2 separate regions of the Homo sapiens genome follow, and region 1 is linked to region 2. Evidence: promoter capture Hi-C in 16 types of primary human blood cells and fetal thymus (Javierre and others, 2016). All regions are on one chromosome and are shown on one strand. Each heading gives the region's core, a stretch centred on a gene start or on the middle of the fragment in contact. The rest is flanking DNA. Distances are from core to core; before and after follow the strand shown.

Region 1 (2,700 bases), core at 197-2,696, 200 kb after region 2:
AGAGAACAAAATATAAAAATGAAAGACTGTCAATAACTATACACTGCCAACGTTGAAAGCTTAGACAAAATGGAAAACATACATTAAAAAGTATAATCTAGTAAAATAAGCTCAAGAAGAGACAAAAAGTATGAATTCTCTTATAACTAGTTGAGAAACTAAAGTACTATTAAGAAACATAGAAAACAATGGCCAAAATTGTTTTCTAGGCGAACAGTACAAAACTATAAAGGAGTAGATCGTTTCAAATTTATTTAAGGATATTGGGCATAAAAATTCAATCATTTTGAAAAACAGATTAGCTCTCCATTATAAATTTAAATTCTTAGCTACTAAATACACCAAGATTCAGCAATTCTGCTCCTAGAAGACATGTACAAGAATGCTTAGAGTAAACATCTGAAAACCACAAAACTGCCAAATCCAGAGATGTCCTTTGGTTTTGCACAGACACACTTACCAGGATGAGTCTCAGAATTAGCTCAGGCTGCAGAGGTGTCCAAAAGGAGGAAGAAGAAGAACCAGGGACACCTTTCATAGGAGGAGTCCCCAGGCTGGGCTCAGAAATGAGCCTTGTCTCTGGAAAGAGCAGGAGAAAATCTCTCACAACCAAGGAACACTTAGGGCCATTCCTGACATTCTCCTTCCAAAAGAGCTGTAGGAGCACTCCAGCCTCTCAATGGGGCCCAAGACCTGTGGGCCTTCAACGAGCCACACCCTTTCCCAAATATAAGCCTCAGATAGCCTGAGATCCCAAGAACCTGGTCACTGGGCTGAGGCTCTAAGGCCTGGGTCGCTGCGTGCCAGTCCCTTCTCATGAAATAGGTGGTCACATCTTTCTTGCCAAGCTTTGTGAGGTGGGGCTTAGATGAGACAAATAGGAAAGAGAGGATAGAAAACTTTAAGAGAGTTTTTTCAAAAGAATCTACAAGACTGGATGTCCCTTTGTGTATATGTGATGGGGAAAAGGGATAGATCAAAGATTATACCAAATGTCTTGACCAGATATCAAATGTCTTGACCAGAGAAATAATCATATGGTGGAAAGAGAACAAATATTGGGAGGGGTGTAGATTTGAGGTCCTAGCAAGACCTTCTGATGAATGAAGAGGTTCTGGAGACATTTAGAGATACCACCTTGGAGGTTATTGATTCCCAGTCTAAAGGGACTTGGAGATAAACTTCTGAAATCATCACCCTGGCATTCATCATTATTTACTCATCCATCTAACATAATTATTTATTTATTTGAACAACCACTTTACGGGGACCCAAGAGGATGAAAACAGGGTTTCTTTACTCAGCAGCTCTCACATTCTGATAGGATCAGAATTATAGAAATAAACACACATATCTTATAATGTTTTAAAATACTAGTAAGAAATCTTATGGAGTAGGGACAACTTTGTGAAATAGTATGCTGTTTCATATGCATTTCAGTACATGGAACAGTGAGAAGGCACACTAAATACTTGGACACCGGTGAGTGTAATGAAGTGCTTCTCTATCCCCTGCCACCAAAAACCAGGGGAATTGGCTTTTTTGTGCTTTTGTACCCACCGCCAATTAAGTATATAAGTGTGTGTGTGTGTGTGTGTGTGTGTGTGTACATGCATGGATGATGGATGCACACACACACACACCACATGTAAATGCCCATACACTTCAGTCCTGCCTCTCACTCCATCATGGTTGCTACAAACATCTCTTCACAGAGAATGAGGAAACTCAGGCTGACAACACCAAAGAAAAATTTGGACTAATGAAAGTATCTCACATATCTCATTGCAAAGTAGTGATTCAGGAGATGAAATTCAGAGCCACCTGCTTTGGACCTCATGGGCTTTTCTCATGCAAAGAAGTGCTTCAGAGATTCTAGTGGACTGTGAGCTTCTCAAGGTTAGAGGTTGTGTCTGATTCACATCCAAATCCCAAATTCCAGACTGATGTCCACAGACCTCATCTGGTGTGCTAAATGAATGTCCATTTAACCAAACACTTTGTTCATTTTTTAAATCTATTTTACATTTGGCCTGAAAGCTTGTGGAGGGTAGGGACCTTGTCTGAAAATAGGTAATAAATAAATAGAGAATGGAGCACCTCTAAAAGAGACTTTTAGAGGTCATATGTTTCTCCTTATTTGGGAACCTCAGTGAGGGAGTGGCCACTGCCATTTAGTTCACAGCTTTATTCTGCTCCTCAAACAATGAATGGTACAATGACTGCCTTCAATAAATGAAAAAATCTGTCTAACCCAACTCTTCCCTGATTTTTCAATGTCAAGTGTACTCAATCCCTCAGTCAATGTCATCTCCCATTCCTCATTCCCAGGGATAACTGGACTCCAGATTTAGAAGCTCCCCAGGATGGCAAGCCCTTCTCAGGCCACTTGTTAGAGTTTAGGGATAAGCTCCTTAAAAGTAGCAACCGTAAGTGACCATCTTTCAACCCCCCATAAGGCCTAGATGCTGTCAATTTGTTTTAGCATGCATTATTGAGCATCTTCTACGTACAAAACACATGCTACATATTTTCATTTCTTAATGTTCAAATCAATGAGTATTAGGGTACTCATTGATCATTTTAAAAAGAACACAGATGCCTAGGAAACATGAGTGATATTTCAAAGGTCACGAGTTACAGCTAGAATTGACACCAGGTTTCCTGACTATAGTTACAGAGACATGACCTCTATAGCCT
Region 2 (2,700 bases), core at 84-2,583:
AGTCTTTGGTGCTAGAATCATGCAATGACATGGGTTGATGGCTGTGAGGCTGCTGGAAACTGGGACATAAATCCCAGAACATCTGCTTCTTAAAAATACTATCAGCTGTCTTAAGAGGAAGGAGGAGAAGCACCATGCACTTGGGTTGAAGCGGGGGTCTCAGTACATCTGAGCAGGGGTCTCAAGAACTCACAGAAGTCAGGGCTCCAAGTAAAGCAGCTTTATTGTTGCTGAGCTGAAGGGGTGAATGGAAGAGAGCAGTAGCAGCGTGGCTCAGCCTAGTTCTCGCTTCTCTAGAGCTGGGGATCAGGAAGTGTTTCTCAGTCCAAATGAGAGGTTGAGGGCCTGGCTTTCCAAGGGGGAATTAGTACCCAAAGGTGGGGCAGGGAGAGAGTAACTGCACCTGTGCCTCAACTCTTCTGGGCTCAGTCGCCTTCACACTCTTCCTCTTTGCAGTGGTAGGTTGTGCCCCTACTTAGGCAGCGCAGCTTTTGACGAGCCCTCCTAGGCTTCTGAACCTCAGGCCTTTGGGAACTGGAATGACAACCTTCTGAATGGGGAGCACCACAAGGAGTCGAGTAGGGAGCTAGGCAGGGGTTTGATCTTTGGGGAGGGGAGCATTTGGGAACATTTGGAGGCTTCCAAGATTGCTGCTTCTGCTGTGACATTGCTTGGCTACCAGGTCGAATCTGGAAGAAAAATAGTTATATCAGGGACCCAGGCAGCTTGGGCTTCTGTTTCTCTCCTCCACAAACTGGAGCTGTCAAAAATGAAGTCCAGCATTTACAACCCACTGAACTCCATCTCAGGAGGAGAAAAACGGACTTGAAAGGACTAAATATTTGGGAGTAAATCTTCCCAGGGGACTCACTTACTAATAACCATGTTAATGATATATGCTTCCTTAAAAAAAAAAAAAGACAAATTGTACTTAGTTGAGCTGACAGTTTACTTTTCCCAGCCCAATGTCCACCTGGTTAAGTGCAAAGGAGAGCCAAGTCTCTGCTCTTTCTTTACTCTGTCTTATTCTGTCCCCAGACTCCTAAGTCTGACTGTCCCATCTCTGCTTTTCTGGCCCTCTAACTTCTATGGCTTTCTCCCATGTTAGATTATTTGGGGTCTTTCTTTTGCAGGGATCCACTTCTCTTCCCTTCTTTCTACCCCAAGCATCTCCTACCTGGCTTTTCAGCTCCCTGGGAAGAGACGAGAGGAGAGATCAGGACTGCCTAAGCAGCACTTGAGCTACATCCAAGTGTCTCCTCAGCCAGAAGTAGCCTTACCCTAGTGGAAGATGTGTGGACAAGTTATCCCAGGAGGAGTCTGGAGGCCTTGTGTTGCCAGGAAGTAAGAGGCTCTTTTATATATCCTCCAGTTGAAGCCTCCAGGCCACATGTCATTGGAGGAGAGCCATGGAGTGGATGATTGATCTGGGTATTTCACAATTCCCAGTGCTAGATTCCTCAGCTACATGTAGCTGGGATGTGGTTCAAAGGCATCTGCAGGTGCGTGAGTGAGCAGAAGGCTGGGGCCTTCAGATTGGCCTACGCAGAAGTGGGTACACTGGCTAATCTGGATGATGTCCTTGGGAGGCTGGGCGGGTTGCAGCTGCTGTTGAATTCTATGTAGGATTGGAGGGAAAAATCAGGTTCGACATCACCCAGGGTCTGAGGAAGACCTTCCTTGTCTACTCCCCACCCATCATCCATGACTGTCAGCATCCCATTCCGTGTCATCACCTCTGTGGAGATTGGCCCATTGCTCTAGCCACACATGAGTCCTTCATCCTCTGACCTTTATAGATACATGTCACAGCCTTTACTATTGCTTTGGGTCGTGTGACCAAGATACATATCCTATCTCACCTATTAAACTGTTATTTGATGACAGTGCCTTTATCACTTCTGCATTCCTAGAGCCTGATGTTGTTCCTGACACAAAGAAAATACTCATTAGTATTTGTTGAATGAAACAGTCTATGTGCCATTAGAAAAGACTTTGTGTTTCAGGAGAAAAAAACAGGAATAAAATAAAGCCCAACTCATTTTGTTTTGTGGACGAGACCTTGACTTCTTGTTTCCATCATTCTCCCCTAAGGCATTTGTGAACACCCTTTCATAAATACTACAGGGAACTCTGTGGGTGGACCTCACCTTACACAATAGGCTGAGCAGAGGGTGGGAAGCAAAACCTTCACACACCTGCTGTCTCTTAAATGCAAAAGGGGAGCTGTTCTTGGAATTATCAAGGGACATTGTGGAAAAGCCTTCCACAGAGTGAAAAGTTCTTCTTTAGCTTTCATGAAAATTGAGATAATCATGTTTTGGCAGTGCTTAAATTGGGAACATTCTCTAAACACAGTCCCTCACCTCTGGATGCTTCCATCTCAGAATCGCTCCTGGTGTGCCCAGCTAAGTTAAAAGGCACTGATGAAACTCCCTGCTGCTCAAGAGTGTGCCTCACCTGCCTCTGTATTTCTGATGCCTGACACACAGTAGGTATTCAGGAAACAGTTGGGTAAATAAAAAGATGAGCAATTACAAGGAACATTCTGACTGTAGGGGCAGTCCTCAAAGGCCTTCAAATCATGTATAGGACAAAGGTGAGTAGGGTTGGGGTATGGGAGAGGGTATGAAGACCAGGGTGGAAAATAGGACAAGGCCAGAAAAGGAGCAGCTATTGGATCCCAAAATCCAGCAGGGC

What was found. Contacts are between HindIII fragments. The CHiCAGO score rates a contact against its expected background, and 5 or more counts as called.
Region 1: a contact is called between a fragment that was not itself captured here and the fragment with the promoter of LCE6A in region 2, in 1 of 17 cell types (M0 macrophages). The highest score is 5.4, in M0 macrophages.

What each region holds. Positions count from the first base shown.
Region 1 is chr1:152,645,953-152,648,652 of GRCh38, reverse strand. No RefSeq gene overlaps it. Among named protein-coding and RNA genes, the nearest start is that of LINC00302, 8.2 kb to the left of the region's middle. The HindIII fragment of the contact is 1,192 bases long and covers 851-2,042 here.
Region 2 is chr1:152,841,489-152,844,188 of GRCh38, reverse strand. LCE6A (late cornified envelope 6A) reads right to left here and starts at 1,333. Exons shown (of 2, transcript NM_001128600.2): 1 at 1,178-1,333; 2 at 206-689. The coding sequence starts at 668. The coding sequence ends at 426. The HindIII fragment of the contact is 3,660 bases long and covers 1-2,700 here.